5 separate regions of the Homo sapiens genome follow, and all the other regions are linked to region 5. The links are contacts of gene promoters, found by promoter capture Hi-C in blood cells and fetal thymus (Javierre and others, 2016). All regions are on one chromosome and are shown on one strand. The core of a region is centred on a gene start or on the middle of the fragment in contact, and the rest is flanking DNA. Distances in the headings are between cores, read along the strand shown. Region 1 overlaps LOC105377370 (a long non-coding RNA gene). Region 2 overlaps LINC02945 (long intergenic non-protein coding RNA 2945). Region 3 overlaps LINC02945 (long intergenic non-protein coding RNA 2945). Region 4 overlaps LINC02945 (long intergenic non-protein coding RNA 2945). Region 5 holds the start of MIR302CHG (miR-302/367 cluster host gene).

What was found. Contacts are between HindIII fragments. The CHiCAGO score rates a contact against its expected background, and 5 or more counts as called.
Region 1: a fragment that was not itself captured here is called in contact with the fragment with the promoter of MIR302CHG in region 5 in 6 of 17 cell types (total B cells, naive CD8 T cells, naive B cells and 3 more); the score reaches 10.1 in total B cells.
Region 2: a contact is called between a fragment that was not itself captured here and the fragment with the promoter of MIR302CHG in region 5, in 1 of 17 cell types (neutrophils). The highest score is 6.5, in neutrophils.
Region 3: a fragment that was not itself captured here is called in contact with the fragment with the promoter of MIR302CHG in region 5 in 8 of 17 cell types (neutrophils, naive B cells, naive CD8 T cells and 5 more); the score reaches 17.5 in neutrophils.
Region 4: a fragment that was not itself captured here is called in contact with the fragment with the promoter of MIR302CHG in region 5 in 1 of 17 cell types (fetal thymus); the score reaches 5.1 in fetal thymus.

What each region holds. Positions count from the first base shown.
Region 1 is chr4:112,122,540-112,125,239 of GRCh38, reverse strand. The region is part of intron 2 of LOC105377370 (a long non-coding RNA gene); the gene reads left to right. Among named protein-coding and RNA genes, the nearest start is that of LINC02945, 12 kb to the right of the region's middle. The HindIII fragment of the contact is 820 bases long and covers 1,012-1,831 here.
Region 2 is chr4:112,048,506-112,051,205 of GRCh38, reverse strand. All of the region lies in intron 1 of LINC02945 (long intergenic non-protein coding RNA 2945), which reads left to right. Among named protein-coding and RNA genes, the nearest start is that of LINC02945, 62 kb to the left of the region's middle. RefSeq lists a silencer at 1,812-1,891. The HindIII fragment of the contact is 8,584 bases long and covers 1-2,700 here.
Region 3 is chr4:112,102,430-112,105,163 of GRCh38, reverse strand. All of the region lies in intron 1 of LINC02945 (long intergenic non-protein coding RNA 2945), which reads left to right. Among named protein-coding and RNA genes, the nearest start is that of LINC02945, 8.5 kb to the left of the region's middle. The HindIII fragment of the contact is 889 bases long and covers 1,017-1,905 here.
Region 4 is chr4:112,085,993-112,088,692 of GRCh38, reverse strand. The region is part of intron 1 of LINC02945 (long intergenic non-protein coding RNA 2945); the gene reads left to right. Among named protein-coding and RNA genes, the nearest start is that of LINC02945, 25 kb to the left of the region's middle. RefSeq lists an enhancer at 1,358-1,926. The HindIII fragment of the contact is 5,743 bases long and covers 1-2,700 here.
Region 5 is chr4:112,648,780-112,651,479 of GRCh38, reverse strand. MIR302CHG (miR-302/367 cluster host gene) reads left to right here and starts at 1,429. Exons shown (of 3, transcript NR_146092.1): 1 at 1,429-1,488. It overlaps LARP7 (La ribonucleoprotein 7, transcriptional regulator), which reads right to left. Exons shown (of 13, transcript NM_016648.4): 9 at 1,794-1,945; 10 at 898-1,019. RefSeq lists an enhancer at 1,887-2,609. The HindIII fragment of the contact is 6,288 bases long and covers 1-2,700 here.

The DNA.
Region 1 (2,700 bases), core at 172-2,671, 530 kb after region 5:
AGCACTGGATATAAATCCCTTATCAGATATATAAATATTTTCTCTCATTTGTGGGCTGTCATTTTATATTCTTGATGATGTCCTTTAAGGCACAAAGATTTTGAATTTTGATGTTATAGCTAAGGTACCACTGCCTAATGTAAAGTCATAAAGATTTACTCCAATCTCTTCTTCTAAGAGTTTTATAGTTTTCACTCTTCCATTTAGATATATGATCCATTTAGCCTGAATTTTTGTGTATGGTATGATATAGGGGTTCAAATTCATTCTTTTGCATATGGGTAGAGAGTTGTTCTGGCATTATTTGTTGAAAATATATTCCTCCTCCATTGAACTGTCTTGGCACCTATGTTAAAAAATCAATTAACCATAAATTTAATGATTTATTCCTGGGATCTCCGTTCTTTTCTACTTATCTATATTTCTACCCTTATGCCAGTCCCATATTGTCTTGATTAATGTAGCTTTGTAGTAAGTTTTGATGTCAGAAAATGCAAGTCCTCAAACTTTGTTTTTTCAAATGTTGCTTTGGCTATGTTGGGTCCATTACATTTCCATATAAATTTTAGGATCAGCTTATCAGTTTCTGAAAAAAAAAAAGCCAGGAGTTCTCAATATTTACTGAGGAATAGTTTGTTATAAGACGACCTAGGTACCACGGAGACTACAGAGATGAAATCCAGTCTTTAATCCTAAAAGAATCAACAATCTTGTAATAACACATACATGTCAACCATCAGTTTATTGCCTCTCAGCTCCAGATTCACTCCACAATATATGCCCTTTGATAATAGGCAGAATTCTTTTAAGTGTCTCCTCCTTACAGTGAGCATAATGCTAAGTTTTCTTAGTAGAGGCTGTTGGAAAGATGTCTCCTGCTGTTTCTGGCTGCTCATGGCAAGTTGGTGGAGTGGGTTTGAAGACATTTGGTGGAACTCTGTTTTGGCCACATTCCTAGAATATGCAGTCACTAGGTAACCTTGTAGTTTCAGCCTATCCTGGCAATAAGCTTCCCATGGACCCCTTGGCATGGAAACTGGTGTCCCAAAGTCTTCCTGAACACATGAATGCCCCAATTCCCTGTGCAAGCCTGCATGTGGATTGTCAACAGCCTGAGAGTTTTCCCCTGAGACATTACTCTTTATTTGGGCTCTGTGGCTTGCCTGCTCCCTGGATTCCCACCACCTGTGTATAACCATGCATCTGGCTTCTGATCTGCTGAGCTCTGGCTGCACTCTGGAGGGATGCTTCCTGCTCTCCTAGTGACCCCAGACCAGCTCGGGCTAATGCAAACCAGTGAACTTTTCTGTTTCAGTTATCAGGCTAAACTATACCTTCTCCAATGAGGTCTGAACCCCAGGTCTGGGGAGGGGGCCCCCTTACAACTTTGTTCTTCCTTGATACTCTTATTCAGCCCTAGGGTTCCTTATAGTTTTCCTTTACTGTCCTTTTTTCTGTATATTCATTTATCAGAGTTTAATAATTCTTTATATTATACTTCTTCTATGTAACCCACTGTGTGATTGGATCCACACTAATACAACAAATAACATTACAGTTCGGAATTAGTAGGTTATATCTTAAGAGATCTGCCAGTGAGATAAGGATTTGGTGCTTACAGTCTGTTGATGGAATCAGGAAAGAATTAATGAGGGAGTGCAATTTAAGATGAGCCTTGAGGGATGGATAAAGATTTCCTTTGAACTTGCCATTAGGGAGCTTATCGTTTTAAGATGATTGCCCAGATCTCCACTTCAAGGGTAAAGACATTTACAAACTGAATTATACTATTTGTCCCAAACAGCTCTCCTTTACTCCTAACTGACAAGCTTACCCTGGATTTTGTTAATGGTCTGGGTGGAGTTGCTAAACAAGGATTTAGAGATGAGCAGAAGAGATACCTGAACCTAAGTGGGTCCCTGACCCCCAGACAAGAAATATTTAAATGACATAATCTCCTCAGAATTACTTAATTAAATGTCTGAAAGAAAGGCTTTGATGGACTGTTTAGTTTAGTTAGAAATGAACACCTACAGCCATATGTACCAATTAATTTCCTCTCCAAATGTTTGCATACTGTTGGGTAGATGTGGCCTACGTTTTGGAAGAATTTTTTTCCTTCGAAGTAGTCATTACACTGTTTTATTTCCTATATGAACACCGAGTACACATTACTTTTCATTTCTTTTTGCTTGCCAAGCCTTTTAATTTTCTTTCATCTCTTTACAAATATCGAATAAAAAATTACGATTTGCAGGGCTATTCAAAGCATAGTTCCTGGACCAACAGAATCAGCATCATTTGCGAGCTTATTAGAAAAGCAAATTTTGGGGCTCACCTCAGACTTAATGAATCAGAATATCTGAGGGGTGGGGCCCTGAATGTGTGTTTTAACCAGTTTTCTAGGTGATTTTATGCACACTAAAGTTTGAGAAGCGCCAGTTAGGATTTTACAAATTGCATTTCATTTGAGACACATTCTAGAATTTAAAAAATATCTGGGATCTTAAAAGCCACTTCCAGTTGGAAGTGTGTATCTCTAGCATCCCTGATAGGTTGGCATCTAAATGCTGCTTGACATTTTTTACAGACGTGAGTTCACCACCTCACAAATCAATCTGTTATATTTGGGAACAATTCAAATTATTGAAAAATCTCAAGGCCAGGCACAGTGGCTCTTGCTTGTAATCCCAGCACTTT
Region 2 (2,700 bases), core at 199-2,698, 600 kb after region 5:
ACAATGCTTCCTAACTGGCTCCACCCTTAGCTGATGGACAGACACTTGATCTGTCTTAAAATATCTAATCTCTTCTTGATTTACTGGCATAAACTCCTTGACAGGTGTTTTTGTTTGTTTGTTGTGACCCATGACTTCAGGAAAGGTTGCACCCTTGGAGCAGTGGTGACTATTACACTCAGAGCTGTTTTTCTTGTGCTTTGTATTTCATCACAAATAGCACTTCTATGATTCAGATTAGAAGAAGGGATATCTATTAAGATATTTCTGTTCTATATGTTTACAAGACTTATAAGAATAAATGAGTTAATGTATGTAAATGGTTTGGAATAGTGACTGACACATAGTAAGTGCTGTAAGTCTTAGCCATTATTATTATGATATTTGCTATTATTACTATTACTTGCTTGTCTCAATTGTTTGGCAAGTATTCTGCAAAGCTAACCCTGTAATGTCAGTATTTTTTCCTCATTTCAAGCACATCATTGCAATCTCAAATAGCTATACATATGTATTTTGAATTTCAGTTTCAATTCTAATGTAGAAAGTAATTTAAAAATACTTTTAAACTGTAAAATATAACATGCATACAGAATAGTCCACAGAACAAAAATATAGCTTAATGAGGCCGGGCACAGTGGCTCACGCCTGTAATCCCAGCACTTTGGGAGGCCGAGGTGGATGGATCAAGAGGTCAGGAGTTCAAGACCAGCCTGGCCAACATGGTGAAACCCCGTCTCTACTAAAAACACAAAAAAATTAGCCAGCATGGTGGCAGATGCCTGTATTCCCAGCTACTTGGGAGGCTGAGGCAGAGAATTGCTTGAACCCCGGATGCGGAGGTTGCAGTGAGCCGAGATCGTGCCACCGCACTCCAGCCTGGGCGACAGAGTGAGACTCCGTCTCAAAAAGAAGAAAAAAATATAGCTTAATGATTTGTTACAAACTAAACCCATGGAACTCACTCAAGTCAAGATTTAGTATTATCACCCTCTCAGAAGTGTCCTTCCAAACTTCCTCTCAGTCATTGCCCCCTGTATGCCTCCTAAAGTTAACTAATATCCTGACTAATATTGTAGTCATATCTTTGCTTTTTTTTTTTTGTGATGGAGTCTCACTCTGTCACCCAGGCTGGAGTGCAATGTCGAGATCTCAGCTCACTACAACCTCCACCTCCCAGGTTCAAGTGATTCTCCAGCCTTAGCCTCCTGAGTAGCTGGGATTACAGGCATGCACCTCCATGCCTGGCTAATTTTTGTGTTTTTTGTAGAGATGGGGTTTCACCATGGTGGCCAGGCTGGACCTGGCTGGGCGTGGTGGCTCATAGGTGGCCGGGGGTGGTGGCTCACATCTGTAATCTCAGCACTTTGGGAGGCCCAGGTGAGCGGATTCTTTGAGCTCAGGAGTTTGAGACAAGCCTAGGCAACATGGCGAAAACCCGCTCTAAAAAGAAAATAAAAAATTTGAGAATTTCATTGTATGAACATACTGTAATTTATCATTTTCCATTTACTGGTTGACATTTGTGCTGTTTCCAGTTTTTTGATATCATGAATAATGTTGCCATAAACATTCTTGAACATGTTTCTTGAAGCACATGTGCATACATTATTGTTAGTTATATAAGTGGAAATAGTGGGTCAAAAAGCATACATATCTTCCATTTTAAAAGATAGTTATATTGTCTTTCATATTATTTCTACTGACATTACTCCTGTTATTAGTGTTAAGAGTTCCCACTGTTCCACATTCTTTCAAATACTAATAGTATTTGACTTTTTCATTCTGGCCATTCTCATTGGTTACTGTAGTATCTCACAATGGCTTCAATTTCTGTTCCCCTTTTACTAATGACATTGAACACCTTTCATATTTTCCAGTCATTTAGATACCCTCTATTGTGAAGCATTTTTTTTTTTTTGAGGCAGAGTTGCACTCTTGTTGCCCAGGCTGCAGTGCAGTGGCACGATCTCGGCTCACCACAACCTCCGCCTCCTGGGTTCAAGTGATTTTCCTGCCTCAGCCTCCTGAGTAGCTGGGATTACAGGCATGCACCACCAGGCCCAGCTACTTTTGTATTTTTTGTAGAGATGGGGTTTCTCCATGTTGGTCAGGCTGGTCGCGAAGTCCCAACCTCAATTGATCCACCTGCCTCGGCCTCCTAAAATGCTGGGATTACAGGCATGAGGCACCGTGCCCGGCCTGAAGCACTTGTTTTAAGTCTGCTGCCCACATGACTATTGCATTGACTTTGTCTCATTGATCCATTGATTTGTTGTGGACCTGAGACTCTTACGGTGTCTTTTTAAAAAAAGGAAGTTTTGAACTTTAACCAACTCTTTCTTTATACCAACTCTTTCTTTCAATATACCAACTCTTTCTTTCATGATCTTTCATGTAGACTAAGTTTAATGTAGTCTGGTTTATCAACCCTTTCTTTCATGGTTTTTCTGTTTTGTTTAAGAAGTCTTCCCCTCCCGCAAGGTCATAAATATATTTTCTAATATAGTTTTTTAGAAGCTATGTGATTTGCCTTTCATATTTTTGTATATGGTGTGAGGTAAAGGCCAAATTTTATTTTTTCTTCACATGGGCACCCAATTGTCTTGGCACCAGTTGTTGAAATGATCATCCTTTCCATGCTGTTTAGCAGTGCTGTCTTTGTTATAAATCAGCTGTCCATACATGAATGTCTTTTGG
Region 3 (2,734 bases), core at 212-2,711, 550 kb after region 5:
TGAAAGTAACCCCCTGCCTATGCAATCTGCTCAGGATATTAAAAAATAGGAAAGAGAGATTGTATAGAGCATGGTTAAAAGGAGAAAAAAATGGTTTCATGTTAGCATTCTACCAAGTTTAGACCACTTGAAAAATTTCATTAAAAGACGTACCCATTATTTAGCAGGGACAGGGTGTAGGGGAGTGGTATGTGGGAGACTGTGGAAGATGCCAGGTTGATGCCAAGAAGATGCTTATTTGTATAATTTTGCTTGGAACTTGAAATTCAAATTTCCATTGTAAATTATAATATATTGCAAAATGCTTTTTTGAGTTAGACATTCTGGATTTTTAACAAAACTCCAGAGAAGTTATATGATGCTGAGTCCATCTTAGATGATCTTCCCCCCACTGCTCACTAAGCTCCACCACATTGGACTTTCTCAATTTCTTAATGCGCCAAGCTCTTTGTTGTTCTAGGAACACTGCATATGTTCTGCTTAGAATAACTTCCCCCAAATCTTCACCTAGCTAACTCCTGTACATCCCTTAGGCCTTAAATTGCATATCCTATTTTAGAGAAGTTGTCTCTGATCCCACAGCATGAATTGGGTGCTTCCTTGTTATAATCATAGATGTCCCTCTTTTCTTTTTTTATCACTGCAATCTGTAATTATATATGTGTGTGTGTGTGTGTTTGTTTTTCTCATGTCTTATTCTTTCACTAAGTGGTAAGCCTCACAAGAGTAGGACTACTTCTGTCCTATTAATCACTATATAAGCAATATCTAGCACAATGCCTGAAAGATAGAGGTTACTTAATTAATCTTTTTTGAATCAATGAATAAATCAAAGTGCTTGCTTGGTTGTACTAAAACATTCATAGTATTTCTGAAGACTTTTTTTTTCTTTTTGTCTGGCATTGCCAGGCTACTCATACTGAGAGAGAGAGAGAATGAATAATTTACAGAATGAATATCTAGGCAACTTCAATTTAGGTGGTGTGCAGCAGAAATGAAGGGATAGAAGTGAAGCTTGAGACAAGGGATTTCAGAAAATTCTCCAAGTAGTCCCAGTGAGTATGAACTGGATCCTAATTGTGCGACAGGCTTCATTTCCTATGCTCCTTGATTTTTCGTCTCTGAACTGTTTAAGGATACAGAAGAAATGACCCATTCTCACTTAGAAAGAGTGACGAGCTTGTGGGGATGGGGATTTTTCCATTTTGTTTGAAACAAATTATGTACAGTGGAATACATGTAGGACTGAAATTATGGGAGCCTTAAATTTATTCTTCACAGGATTTTGAATCAAACAAATATTGATTAAGAATGTTTTGTAGGCCGGGCACGGTGGCTCACACCTGTAATCCCAGCACTTTCGGAGGCCGAGGCGGGCGGATCATGAGGTCAGGAGATCGACACCATCCTGGCTCACACGTGAAACCCTGTCTCTACTAAAAATACCAAAAAAAAAAAAAAAAAAAAAAATTAGCCGAGCGTGGTGGCGGGCGCCTGTAGTCCCAGCTACTTGGGAGGCTGAGGCAGGAGAATGGCATGAACCCGGGAGGCGGAGCTTGCAGTGAGCCGAGATCGCGCTGCTGCACTCCAGAATAATTTTGTATTATTTACAAAAGAATGTTTTGTAAATAATAATATAGTAATGCACTATGAAATAAGAAGTGGTCTGTAAAAGGAAAAAAAAAAAGGCCAAATTTTAAAATCAAAGGGTCACTTATTGTTTCAGGAAATAGCATGTCTTTATCATTGTCACAAAAACCAATAGCAGAAATAGAAATATGCGTCAGTGTTATTTAGGATTGCACTTGAACAATGCTAATTTGCACAAGGCAATTATTTTATAAACTTTTGAGGAATGGGGATTATGTAGAGATGAAGGTTAGAATAAAGGTAGGTATGTAAGCTTGTAGGGAGGAAGATTTGTTTGTCTCTACCCACGAATTGGGCCAATTCCCGGATGTCACATCACAAGCCAGATTCCAGAGGAAATGGCGGTTGACCTTTTATTTCTTGTTCAATGCCATTGGACAAAAACACGAGTTTAACTTTCAAGTTGCTTTTGGCAGAGGCCTTGGGGTTGCTCCTCTGCCCCCAGCTCTTTTCTGAGTGACACACAGAGCCTCAGCCATCCTTAACAGACGTGTTCTGAGTGCTGTTTCTTGGAATAGCAAATAATACGGCCAATACCTAATTTAGAACTTTTATTCTGTGCCAAGTGCTATGAGCTTATTTATGGATTATCTCATTTAATCCTCATTATTATTTATAATGTAGATGTTGTCATTATCTCCATTTTATGGATAATGACACTGAGGCTTAGAGAAGCTAACTCACTTGCCTAAGATTATATAGCCATTAAGTAGCAGTGACCAGATCTGAACCCAGGCAATTTGATTCTAAACTCTCTACTGCCTCTCTTAATGGCTGCCCATCAGGGAATTCACTCTTCATGGTGGATGTAGTGCAAACTTGATAGATAGAATGGAAGGCAAATGTTAAATGCTATATGACTTGCCTTACACTTATTCATGTCAGAGTGGAACTGCCAAAGGTCAGGATTGTTTGGAGGTCCATAAAAATTCTATATTGCTTGTCTTCCCTGTGCAAAGTGCTCATTGAACATCCTATCCCCAACCTACCCGACTCCTTCTCCATCTCTCATGGGGTAAAGAGGGGAAACAAACTCTTTGGCAAAAATAGACATTATGGTGTAAATCAACTAGGTAAATGAACA
Region 4 (2,700 bases), core at 193-2,692, 560 kb after region 5:
ATCAGAGACTAGGACTGCAACCCCTGCCTTTTTTTGTTCTCCATTTGCTTGGTAGATCTTCCTCCATCCTTTTATTTTGAGCCTATATGTGTCTCTACACGTGAGATGGGTTTCCTGAATACAGCACACTGATGGGTCTTGACTCTTTATCCAATTTGCCAGTCTGTGTCTTTTAATTGGAGCATTTAGTCCATTTACATTTAAAGTTAATATTGTTATGTGTGAATTTGATCCTGTCATGATGATGTTAGCTGGTGATTTTGCTCGTTAGTTGATGCAGTTTCTTCCTAGTCTGGATGGTCTTTACATTTTGGCATGATTTTGCAGTGGCTGGTACCGGTTGTTCCTTTCCATGTTTAGCGCTTCCTTCAGGAGCTCTTTTAGGGCAGGCCTGGTGGTGACAAAATCTCTCAGCATTTGCTTGTCTGTAAAGTATTTTATTTCTCCTTCACTTATGAATCTTAGTTTGACTGGATATGAAATTCTGGGTTGAAAATTCTTTTCTTTAAGAATGTTGAATATTGGCCCCCACTCTCTTCTGGCTTGTAGGGTTTCTGCTGAGAGATCTGCTGTTAGTCTGATGGGCTTCCCTTTGAGGGTAACTCACCTTTCTCTCTGGCCGCCCTTAACACTTTTTCCTTCATTTCAACTTTGGTGAATCTGACAATTATGTGTCTTGGAATTGCTCTTCTCAAGGAGTATCTTTGTGGCGTTCTCCATATTTCCTGAATCTGAACGTTGGCCTGCCTTGCTAGATTGGGGAAGTTCTCCTGGATAATATCCTGCAGAGTGTTTTCCAGCTTGGTTCCATTCTCCCCATCACTTTCAGGTACACCAATCAGACGTAGATTTGGTCTTTTCACATAGTCCCATATTTCTTGGAGGCTTTGCTCATTTCTTTTTATTCTTTTTTCTCTAAACTTCCCTTCTCGCTTCATTTCATTCATTTCATCTTCCATTGCTGATACCCTTTCTTCCAGTTGACCGCATCGGCTCCTGAGGCTTCTGCATTCTTCACGTAGTTCTCGAGCCTTGGTTTTCAGCTCCATCAGCTCCTTTAAGCACTTCTCTGTATTGGTTATTCTAGTTATACATTCTTCTAAATTTTTTTCAAAGTTTTCAACTTTTTTGCCTTTGGTTTGAATGTCCTCCCGTAGCTCAGAGTAATTTGATCGTCTGAAGCCTTCTTCTCTCACCTCGTCAAAGTCATTCTCCATCCAGCTTTGTTCTGTTGCTGGTGAGGAACTGCATTCCTTTGGAGGAGGAGAAGCGCTATGCGTTTTAGGGTTTCCCGTTTTTCTGTTCTGTTTTTTCCCCATCTTTGTGGTTTTATCTACTTTTGGTCTTTGATGATGGTGATGTACAGATGGGTTTTTGGTGTGGATGTCCTTTCTGTTTGTTAGTTTTCCTTCTAACAGACAGGACCCTCAGCTGCAGGTCTGTCGGAATACCCTGCCGTGTGAGGTGTCAGTGTGCCCCTGCTGAGGGGTGCCTCCCAGTTAGGCTGCTCGGGGGTCAGGGGTCAGGGACCCACTTGAGGAGGCAATCTCCCCATTCTCAGATCTCCAGCTGCATGCTGAGAGATCCACTGCTCTCTTCAAAGCTGTCAGACAGGGACATTTAAGTCTGCAGAGGTTACTGCTGTCTTTTTGTTTGTCTGTGCCCTGCCCCCAGAGGTGGAGCCTACAGAGGCAGGCAGGCCTCCTTGAGCTGTGGTGGGCTCCACCCAGTTCGAGCTTCCAGGCTGCTTTGTTTACCTAAGGAAGCCTGGGCAATGGCGGGCACCCCTCCCCCCAGCCTTGCTGCTGCCTTGCAGTTTGATCTCAGACTGCTGTGCTAGCAATCAGTGAGAGGACTCCGTGGGCGTAGGACCCTCCGAGCGAGGTGCGGGATATAATCTCGTGGTGCGCCGTTTTTTATGCCAGTCCGAAAAGCGCAATATTCGGGTGGGAGTGACCCGATTTTCCAGGTGCGTCCGTCACCCCTTTCTTTGACTCGGAAAGGGAACTCCCTGATCCATTGCACTTCCCAAGTGAGGCAATGCCTCGCCCTGCTTCGGCTCACGCACGGTGCGCACACCCACTGACCTGCGCCCACTGTCTGGCACTCCCTAGTGAGATGAACCCGGTACCTCAGATGGAAATGCAGAAATCACCCGTCTTCTGAGTCGCTCACGCTGGGAGCTGTAGACGGGAGCTGTTCCTATTCGGCCATCTTGGCTCCTCCTCCAAGAGGGCAATTTTATAATATATACCAAAAACTTTAAAATGTTCATATCCTTGAGACAGAAATTCCACCTCCAGGGATTTATCTTAAGGCTGCATAGAGACTTTTTTTGTGGTATCTACCCAGCCTATGCCTCCTTTCTTTGGACTCAAGGGAAAGACTCTCATGTCAGTGAGCTTGAGGAGGAGAGAAAGCCACTAGGTACAAGGAAGGGAAGAGTTATCAGTGGACAGCACAATGAATTCAGGCTATGACACATCCTGTCTGCTTCAAACAAACAGCAATGCTAGACAAGTTTTATAAGAAGATATGTGGAAGTACCTGGCCAACTCAAAACAAGGCAAACATTTCCATAGACCACAAATAAGACTTGAAAAATTATAGTAGGGAACAGAGATGAAATCAAGAGCCTGCCAGACTCCAGATCCCAATGTGGGCATCAAAGGCAAATAGGATTTTGGAGAAGATGCAGAC
Region 5 (2,700 bases), core at 180-2,679:
TCCCTCAATTTTCAGCTGTCTCCTGAAATGCAAGCTGGTAATAGCAATTTGGATTTGGCCAAATCCTTCACCAACATTGCAAAGAGGATCAAAATTTGTTTCTTAGTGACAGCTATAGGATTGTAGGACAGTATTTCAGATAAGGAGGGCTTACAGATAAACAAACCACCACCTCAATGGTATTCAAGTTAAAACCTGTGACTGATGAGTCTACGTAAAACCAAAACAACATACTAAGTGATGATGAATGTCAGTATAAGAAAATACTTAAAATATGTGGTATGTTACAGAGCATTTCACACTTTTTAAAAAGAAAAGGATTCACTTAAATGGGTGACAGGCAGGGTAAGGGTAAATAAGATATGGTACTCTCACCTAAAAGTATATAATTTCCCTAATAGAAAGTATTGCTACCAATGTGGTATAAAAGGCTACAGAAGATAGACTGTATAAAGCGAAAAAATTATAAACCTGTATGTACAGCAATTTGTAGCGTAAATTATATAGAAGTATGGGTTTTTTGGCACATGCGTGAAAAATTTTAAGAGGTTTTCAAAAATATTTTACTTTTCTATAATTAAAATTTTAAAGATAATCAGCACATAGGTAATACAAAAAAAATCAGTGCCAATAAAAATAAGCAAAAGTTACAATTTTCCTATAGAGAAGGATGTTTAAACTGTGCTTACATATAGATTTAGTGAGGAATTTCAGCCTCTAGATTTTGCTTCAAAATTAAACCTAAGAGTTACCATGGAATTAAAACTGTACAGTAGTTTACCATAGGGAAACAAATTCTAACTTGATTTGTTTTATCTTCCATATTCAAAACATTTTCACACAGGGAAATAATAAGAGAAGAAAGGAACAAATACCCTAGGGGCTCAAAATCATTACCCGGACTTGTTTCCTGCCAGGTAGAGGCTCTGTGCTAATGATCTTCACAATCACTCCACTCACGAACTGTGGTCCTGTTGCATTAACTTTCTCCTGGGTGCGACACTCTTCCCTGTTGGCTGCTGATTAGAAAAGGAAAAAGACCAGGACTAAATCTCTTACACTTAACAACAATTTAATACTTAGGAGGACTACCTTAGAATAATTCCTGAGGCAGATTTAAATAATTTAAAACGTATTTAATTTTAAAGTAAACAATTAAAGGTTATATGTCATACTGCTTATTTCAAAATACCATGAATAAAACTCAGAAAGTTTTATTATTCTACATGCAAATTGTTACTGCTAGAAGAGCATTCGTAAAGCCTTTAAATTTGCCCCTTCTCCCTGAACAAAGGAACAGTAAATTTTTACTCAATAAAGTTAAAAAAAAGTTAAAGGATACTGTGTTTTAAATACATTATTATTCAAACGTGAACATTTATTTTTACAAGAAATGAGAATTTAAAATGTATCCTAATTTTGAATTCATAGGAATTCTGCTTTAACTTGTTCCTGCTTGTGGTGCATACTACAGAATGAAATTAACAGGTGAGAAACTACAATCTTCATTCCTACAAACTTGCTCAGTCTGCAAACTCTGCACTCATGTGCTTGATGAAAACTGTAGAGAAAACTCAGGTTATTTAAAAAATTGTTTTAAATGAGCCTTTTAAATATTCTTATATCAAGAGTAAGTAACACATCTGGATAACTTAACAAATCAAGAATTGTTCTAATAATGAAATAGAATAATCAAGTTTTTTAAAATTAAAATTTATCTTATAACAACTCAGAGATAGCATTTACATATATAAGTACATTATAATGTTGTCAAAACTATCAGTGATCTTTACTTTTTTCATTTTTCATTCCAGTGTTTTGAGGTACTCCACTGTCTGTTTCCATTTCTGACTCTGATTTTATTTGGGATATTGTTTTTTTTAAAGAAGCCATGCTAGCTTTTTGTAGCGCTAAATACTCTTTTTTCAAATCCATCCATTCGCTCCTACAAGGAAAGAAATGGTGATAACAGATGACTAAATATAAAAAGTAAATAGGGAAATATCTAAATATATACATTCACAATGACTTGGAGCAACTCCTCCACCAACTTTCCTGTTTCTTTAAACACATATTCAAAATATTTCCTAGGTTCTAAAGACATTTAGCAAAATAAGCTAAGGGAGTTCCTCTTCCCCCAATATTCAGATTAAATGTTTTAAGATTGCCAATTAAATTTTTGAGTGTCTGAAGTATTTTAATTTATAAAAGTAAAATTTTAGCATTAATTCCTTAACTAGTAACATTTACTAAATCAGTCATCTCTGTGGGAAAAGGGCGAGATTAAAGATTTGTTAAACTGCTTCCAATTTGAGAGATAACATTCCTTAGTATTTACTTGAATCAAAAAGAATTTCTAAGTAGAACAAAACACCCCGTGGAAGCAATCTATTTATTTACATACATTTAACATGTAGATGCTTCTTCAAACAGAGTTCCTCCAGATAGAAACACAATGCCTTTCTCGGCTCAGTGGGAGCACTCATTGTTACCCTAATCTATGCCATCAAACAAGCAGATAGGAGATTTTCTTTTTCTTTTTCTTTTTTTTTTTTAAGAGGAAGATATCTTGTGGTAATGGTTTTAGCTGTTAACATTGACATCTGTATACTTCAAAAAAAAAAAAAAGGATCCAGACCCACCCAGGATCATACATTCCCTGAGAGCTGATACATTAAAATAACAAAAGGCCCTTGTAAT